Regions from separate parts of the Homo sapiens genome. Here regions 2 and 3 are each linked to region 1. Evidence: promoter capture Hi-C in human tissues and cell types (Jung and others, 2019). All regions are on one chromosome and are shown on one strand. Each heading gives the region's core, a stretch centred on a gene start or on the middle of the fragment in contact. The rest is flanking DNA. Distances are from core to core; before and after follow the strand shown. Region 1 holds the start of ROPN1 (rhophilin associated tail protein 1). Region 2 overlaps KALRN (kalirin RhoGEF kinase). Region 3 overlaps MYLK (myosin light chain kinase).

What was found. The method cuts DNA at HindIII sites, captures the fragments that hold promoters and counts their contacts. A contact is called where the count stands out against the background at its distance.
Region 2: a contact is called between a fragment that was not itself captured here and the fragment with the promoter of ROPN1 in region 1, in 2 of the 25 tissues and cell types used here (IMR-90 fibroblasts and aorta).
Region 3: a contact is called between a fragment that was not itself captured here and the fragment with the promoter of ROPN1 in region 1, in 2 of the 25 tissues and cell types used here (liver and stomach).

The regions. Positions count from the first base shown.
Region 1 is chr3:123,990,814-123,993,513 of GRCh38, reverse strand. It overlaps ROPN1 (rhophilin associated tail protein 1), which reads left to right and starts at 1,390. Exons shown (of 6, transcript NM_001317774.2): 1 at 1,390-1,592. RefSeq lists an enhancer at 1,102-1,618. The HindIII fragment of the contact is 7,331 bases long and covers 1-2,700 here.
Region 2 is chr3:124,075,446-124,078,145 of GRCh38, reverse strand. The region is part of intron 1 of KALRN (kalirin RhoGEF kinase); the gene reads right to left. Among named protein-coding and RNA genes, the nearest start is that of KALRN, 43 kb to the right of the region's middle. The HindIII fragment of the contact is 3,644 bases long and covers 1-2,700 here.
Region 3 is chr3:123,874,298-123,876,997 of GRCh38, reverse strand. MYLK (myosin light chain kinase) reads left to right here. Exons shown (of 34, transcript NM_053025.4): 2 at 381-439. Among named protein-coding and RNA genes, the nearest start is that of MYLK, 8.7 kb to the left of the region's middle. The HindIII fragment of the contact is 6,903 bases long and covers 1-2,700 here.

The DNA of each region.
Region 1 (2,700 bases), core at 141-2,640:
AGGGCCTGGGTGAACTAATCTATTTAGACTAATACACACTGTTGTATAAATGGAATGAAGGATTAGATGATGCAATGGGCCCCTTTAAAATAGGTGTGAAGTGACACGGGATGTAGCAGAGAAAGATGGGGCTTTTCTTGCCTCCTTGGGTGCTTAAAACGAACAGTCTTGAGACCAGGTGCGGTAGCTCAAACCTGTAATCCCAATACTTTGGGAGACCAAGGCAGGTGGATCACTTGAGCCCAGGGATTCAAGACCAGCCTGGGCAACATGGCAAAACCCCGTTTATAAAAATATAAAAATTAGCCTGTCATCGTGGCAAGCACCTGCAGTCTCAGCTACTTGGGAGGCTGAGGTGGGAGGATTGCTTAGACCTAGGAGATTGAGGCTGCAGTGAGTCATGATTACCCCATTGCACTCCAGCCTGGGCAACAGAGCAAGACCCTGTCTCAAAACACACACACACACACACACACACACACACACACACACACACACACACACACAGTCTTGAAACCGGAAGACCTGGAGTAAAGTTGGGCCCTGAGCCCTACTGCCAGCTGTTCGATCACAGGCAAAATTACTCGAAGCCTTGAGCCTGTTTTTTATTTCCAAAGCGAAGGTAATACCTACCTTCAGAGTTTACTGTGAAACTTTGATGTCATCATGTTTGTAAAAGTGCCCTGGCACAGTGACCACATTCTACCCTATAAATATTTTCTATCTTTCCCTGTTGTCCCCAGGCATCTCAGGCTCTGTTCCTATCCACTCCATGCCCCTTTCTTAGCATTATAAGGTCAAGAGTGAGGAATCTGGGACCACGCAACCCAGATTCAGATCCTGACTCTGTCACTTGCTGACTGTCATCTTGGACAAGTTTAACCTCTCTGTGCTCAGTTCCCTCATCTGTAAAAATGGGGATAACAATAGTACTTGCCTCATGGGGTGACAGTAAGGATGAAATGAGTTCATGTGTGTAATGCACTTAGAACAATTCCTGGCACCAAAAACTCATTGTAAGAAGTGTTGTTACTATGATTCCTGAGGAATTCTCACCTGTCCACTTTCCACAAGCCGAAAGATCAAGCTCCACTTCTGCCCTCTCACCTACAAAAGCGCACCGTCAATGGCTACACATTCCGCCCCACCCCCAACGCCCCCAGCCCGGGTTTCCTAACGTCCCCAGCCCAGTCCTTAACCCTCCAGGCCGTCTGGTCCTTCCACCACCAGCAAAGCCCAAAACAGCTTTCAGCGTCCCCTAGCAGCGCCCTAGCGGGACCCTGGGAACCCGCCGCTGCAGGAGAGGCGGGGCGGCTCTGTGACGTCGCGCCCGGCGCTACCCCTGGTGACCTGGCAGCGGAGCCCGCGCAGGGTTTGCCAGGCGAAGGCGGAGCGCTAACGTCTAACGCTAACGGCGGTCGTGCCCCGCCGCTGCTGTCACCCCCGGCCGCTGCTGCCCTCCCCGCCGAGGTTCTACTGCTCTCCTTCTTAAGAAGGGTGGGAGGCACTCGGTCTCTCCCCACACCTCTCGCCTGAGGCCAGGCGCCAGGTGTCGCCTGAAGCCAGACAGCCGGTTTGGGAGCGAGCCTGAGGTAGCCACCCCGAGGGGAAGTGGAGGGAGGGCAGGGCTCTGAGCGCCCCGAGGGCTGCGCTGGTCTGAGGGAGGAGCCCTGCCGGACGCCCCCTGGATTCTGAGCCTCTCCTTGTTCACAGGGCAAGGGGAAGGCAAGGGGATCTTCAAGAGAATGTGACTGTGGGGGATTATGGCTTTCTGGCCAATTTGTGTGCGTATTTTGTACCCAGAATACTATTATACGGTTTCTTACCCGGAGGACAGTGGTTGGGAGGCTCAAGAGTTTGGAATCAGAGCCCTCCACCGAGGAGCCACACCTCTGCTTTTTCATCAGCGACAGGGATATAAAAATACCTCTGGGTGAATTGTCATGTGGATGTCATGGGCATACCTAGCACTTCATAGACTCCTATCACACATTATTTTATACCTAGCACTTCATAGACTCCTGTCAGGCATTATTTTATACCTGGCACTTCATAGACTCCTATCACATATTATTTTATACCTAGCACTTCATAGACTCCTATCACGCATTATTTTATACCTAGCACTTCATAGACTCCTATCACGTGTTCATTTTATAGCTAGCACTTCATAGACTGCTATCACGCATTCATTTTTACTAGTACCTATTGAACACTAAGTTCCAGGCACTGGGCTAGGCACTGGGATGGTGTGGTGAGCAAAAACTGACCAGTCCTGCCGTGGAGTTTGCTGGGGGAGACACATGTTACTCAAAGAATCACACTAAGGATAGGTAAGTGATGCTCTGGAAGGGTATGTACAATGGAACTGACAGGGTAATCAGGGAAGGTTAAGCAGACCTCCAAAGGAAGAATCAACCTGTTAAGAGGAGGAGAATGTATTCCAAACAAGAGTAACCACATCCCAAACCCACCATCTCCAATTCCAAACCCAAACAGGGATGTGCAGTTGCCTGTGCTTGGTTCCAAGTGATACTCATAGAAACCCTCTGAGATTCTGCCCTGGAGCCTTTCATTCATGTTACTGGAGACTTTCATTTATGAAACGGAAGCCCTGTTTAGCCCATACCAATAAAACCAAGTGAGAGATCCCTGAAACAAGGCTATAGTCTATTTTAAGACCTACATTCTTCAGCACTT
Region 2 (2,700 bases), core at 115-2,614, 85 kb before region 1:
AAAAACAGGAGCAAAGGCACAGAGATCACCAAGTAGTTCAAGTCACTGGAGCTAAGCCTATGGGACAGGTAATACCGGGGCCAGAGCGTAGAGGTCCTTGAATAATACCTTTGAGTAGTCGGTATATGCCAGGCTAACTGCTTTACATTCATGATCTCATTTATTCGTTGAAACAATTCTATGTAAAACCCCCTATCACAAAGAAGCAAACGGGTCCACAGAAGTCAAGAAAACTGCCCATGATGTCACAGTTGATAAGTGGCAGAGCTGGGATGCACACCCAGGCCAGCCTTATGACCATGGCAGCAATGCTGTGGTGCTCTGGAGCCTGGGATGCCAAGTTAAGGAGTTGCTACTTTATCCAATGGGAGCTACTTTGAGCAGGAGCATGCCAAGGTTCAAAGACTGTGCTTGGGAAGACGTATCAGACGGTAATGGGGAGAATAGATTGGGAGTCAGGTTTGAAGCCTATTGCAATAGTACCAATGTTGTATCATTAAACTTCTGAACTGGAGAGTGGCGGTAGAACTGGCAAGGGGATTCAGAGCTGAGAAGTTCCAGAGGAAGAGCGGGGACAATTAAGGATGATCCCAAGCTATGCACCTGAATGACTGGAAGGATGCGGATTTGGAAGTGGCCCTGCATATGTGCATGCCATGGGAAAGAGTAGGAATGAATGAGTGGCCCTGCATATGTGCATGGCATGGGAAAGAGTAGGAATGAAGAGTAGGAATGAATGGCCTTAAGTCCTCAGGAGCCCCAAACCAGGGGGCAGCCTAAATCCTCTCCACTCTTTTCCTCTCCCTAAGCATTGCTGCTACCTGCAAAAGCTTCCTGACTTCCCTGAGCCTTCCCACCCATCTGGGGCATCTGAGCTCAGCAACTCACAAAAGCAGAGGGATAATAATGCGACATGAGACATCACACAACCATGTCCACCCAGGTCTACTCTCCTCTGGCCAGCCTGACCCAGCGCAGACAATGTCTGGTCCCAAACCAGCACCAAGAAGTGGAATAGCAGCAGACAGGAGTTAGAGGCCACAGGTAGTGATTCTGACTCCTTCACTGACTCCCTGTAACCTTGGACCAGAAGCTTAACTTCTCTGGATCTGTTTCCTAATCTGTAAACCGAGGAGTTTGAACCAGAATCAGAAGCTGCAAACTAGGGGCACACAGGACAAACTCATCTTGTGAATGGACTCTGACCAACACAATGTCTTTTAATTAGCTTCAACATTTAAAAACTGGGCCACTTCACAAAGAAAGTGCATATTTGCCGCTGTTCTTGAAGCAGGAAGGTCTGGCAACATGGAGCCCACATTCCTACATGGCATCAATCAGCTGGGGCTGAGTGGCTGCTGGGACACCACCCTCCAGTTTGCCACAGTCCCCACCACCCCTACTGTCCCTGATTGCTGCCACTCATCATCTATACATGGGTCATTATGATCTTTTATGCTAATGGTCTGGCCCCTGTAGGGAACTGAGTTCACAACCTCTAGAGAAAATGATCTAAAATATCATCATTGCAAGACTCAGGAGTTGGGGACATTAAACAGAAGCACAGAGGAGTTGGGAGTGATTTTCCCTCAATGGAAGATGCGGGCTCCTCCGAGGAGCAAGGGCTTGCTACAGCGGATGAAGGTTCATTAACACGTGTGTCAGGCCTGCCCACCGCCCCACACCACACCCTCAACAAGGCACAAGGCCAGATGACATCAGCCTTGGACACAGTCAGAGAAGCCCCATCATGAAGCAATTTGCTTCCCCAGCCACTCTAATTTAACAATTAGCTTAACAACTCTGGTCAGGCACTTGCTGCTGGAGTGGAGAAATGATCCTGATCAGCAGAAGCTTCAGCCTAGAAGCTTTAGGAACTCCCTTCCTATCCCCCCACCCTAGCTGCCCTTGCTTCCCTTGGGTCTGCATCTCCTGCTCACACAGATAGATATTCTAAATATCTCCAAAGAGGTTTCACCTTCTCCTTGAGCTTCCCAATTGGGCTCCTTAGAAACTTTCCAGCAAAATTAGTTTCTCCTGCTGCCACTTCAGCCCATTCTCTTAGTCTGTCCTGCAGAGATTCTGGCCTCATCGCAGGAAGCACGTCAGGCCAGTAGCGAGATGGCGTGTGGAAGGAAGCCTGCACATAGGCCACACGCAGAGACAGGGGTATACTCACAAGGCTGGCGACCTTGGGCCGTCCTTGGTGCAGATCCTGACTCAGAGCACAAGCCTCAGAAACAGAGTTTGCCCTGACTCAGACAGCATGCTCAGCTCCGCATCTGCATTGCCAAAAGGCCTCTTGGTAAGAATGCACAATACTCCCTCTCTACAGCTTGTGCTGCTCCTGCCTCAAGCTGCACCCCAAACCCGAATGCCAAATTTCAGAGAAAGAGAGCGAGATTATTAAGGGGACGTCAAAAGGAAAACTTTATAAAGTCACAGTCTATTATTTTTAAATACAGTATTAGAATTCCAGGATAGATGGGGTGAAGCCAGCACCTAAAATAGCAGACCCTCAAGAAAGCAAACATCCCTGCATGACCAGATAGAGATTTCACAGAGAACCTGGAGAAAGAAATGGCTCATAAAAATGGAACAACAACCAGGAAACTAATCAGACCAAAAATAAACCTGAGAGATGCCAATGCCAAGGTCAACCCCAAAGGTTATTTTGTTCCAATGGGGCCAAATCAGTGG
Region 3 (2,700 bases), core at 123-2,622, 120 kb after region 1:
CAACTTCTCTAGAAATAAGTCCCTGTAAAATTCTTTTTACAGAGACAAGTCATAAATTATTATGGTATGTTTTTATCATTTGTTTAATTTTTCTCATGCTAAAATTTTATATCTGTAACTATACTGAAAAAACATCAAGGGAAGGACATGTTAATGCCTCTGTTTCCTCATAGCAGTGGTTCCAGAACTGGCTGATAACAAAATCTCTTTGGGAACCTTGTTTGAAAAATAATCTATGGCTCCCCAGTCCCAGCCCAGACTACCTTGGTGGGGTCAGGGAATCTCTGGTTTAACAAAGCTTTCCAGATGTTTGTGATGTCAACCTGATTTGATGTTTCACTATGTAATTGTTTCTATTATTTCTTTGATTTGTGTATTAGGAAGGATTCTTCAAAATTAACAGAAACCAATTCGGGCCAGCTGAAGAGAAAAAATAAAGGTAATAGCATGATAAAAGATGGATTCTTATATTTTCTTTATTCCAAATTATAGCCACTAAGATTCGTATCACTTTATAGTTTCTCAGGAAAAAGCACTTCCTTTCATATAGACAATTTTAGAAAAGTTTCTAAATTACAATATACCTTAATTTTTGAAATTGCATACCAGTTTTTTCATCATTATAATCAAAATATAAAGATCCTTCTGAACTATGATAATGTGATAACTGATATAATCTATCAGAGTTACATATGATTTCAAGGTGAAATGCTGTTTTTCATAATCTGTGTTCATGATTTTTGAATGTTGATGCATTCTTGCCTTCCTGGAATAAACACTTAGTCATAATGTATAGTTTTTTTAAAAAAAAAATACCCCAGTGACTTTGATTTTCTAATATTTTATTTTGGTTTTTTACATCTGTAGTCCTAAGTGAGATTGAACTATTAATTGTCTTTGCTTCCCTTGGCCAGTTTTGTATGTGCCCACAATTTTGACATTTTTGGCACCTTTAGGATTGACAGAATAAGTCTGAGGAATATTAAAGTCTACCAGGGTTTTGTCTATGTATTCTTTAGATTAAATTTTGAGTTCTAGCTTTTCTATAAGTAATATTGCTAAAAGTTAGATATCTTTTTCTAAAAGTTAACTGGAAACTTTGAAAAAAATAAATATTCAGTATCTACCTGATCATCTGTTGCACATAAATCAGTCACACCAACTTTTCCTAGTTTCGGTGTATTCTGGTCTGGTAAATTTGGCAGTTTCTACTGTCTTTTTATTCCATTGTTTGACAAATGATCAGCATTTTCCCAGGTACACAATAACTTTTCTTTTCAATGCTGCATCATAATAGGTTTTTTTGAAGACTCTTTTTCTTTCTCATGTAAAAAAGTAGATATAATTTATATACAGTAAAATTCACCTGTTTTAATGTACAATTCTGAACAATTAATACATAATTATGAGGAAGTTCAGTTCTGAATTTTGACAAATGTATATATAGTCATATAGGCACCATCACAATTGAGATACAGAAGAGCTCCATCACCTCCCAGAATTGCCTTGTGAGCTTTTGTTGTCTGCTCTCCCACCATGCAGACCTTGGCAGTTACTGATCTGCTTTCTCTCCCTGTGTTCTTTCCTATCTCGGAATGTCATATAAATGGAGTCATGGTTTGTAGGCTTTTTAGTGTGCCTGCTTTCACTTAGCATTAATGTGTTGGAGATTCATCCATGGTGGTGGGTATATCAATAGGTTATTCGTTTTTGTTGCTGAGTATTATTTCATTGTAAAGACGTATCACCGTGTGTTTACCTATTCCCCAGTTGAAGGACATTTGGGCTGTTTCCAGTTTGAGGTGATAATGAACAACTCACTATCAATGTTTGTGAACAGATTTTTAGGTGAACATAGATTTCATTTCACTTGGGTAAATATCTAGGATTGGGGTTTCTGGGAGGTATGGTAAATGTAATGGAATACCAAACTGTTTTCCAAAGTGGCTGTACCATTTTGCATTCCTGGTAGTAATATATGAGGGTTATATTTTCCACATCTTTGTCAGTACTTGGTATTGTCAGATTTTAAAAATTTTAGACATTCTAATAGGTATAGTTTTATCATATTGTGTTTTTAATTTGAATTTCCTTAGTGACTACTGATGTTGAACATCTTTGTACTTATTTGCCAAACATATATTGTCTTTGGTGAAGTATCTGTTTAAGTCTTTTGCCCAAGTTTTATTGGATTGTTTGTTTCCTTATGATTTAGATTTGAGAGCTCTTTATATATTCTGGACATTAATCTTTTATTGGGTACGTGTTTGGCAAATATTTTCTCGCTGCCTGTAGCTTGTCTTCTCATTCTCTTTAACAATGCCTGTTACTGCATGACAGAAGTCTTTAATTGTGATGAAATTCAATTTATCAATTTTTAAAGATGTGTTATGCTTTTGCTGTTATATCTAAGAAATACTAACCTAATGTGGAGTCATTAAGATTTTCTCCAGTGCTTTCTTCAAGACGTTTTACATTTTTAGGTTGTATATTTAGTTCTGATCCATTTTAAGTTAATTTTTATACATGATGTAAGGTATAGATAGAGATTCTGTTGTGCATATGAATGTCCAATAGTGCTAGCACCACAATGAAAAGATTATCCTTCTCTTATTGAATTGTGTTTGTACCTTTGTTGAAAATCAGTTGAGCATGTATGTGTGGTCTATTCTGAGTATTCTGTCCCATTGATTTATGTGT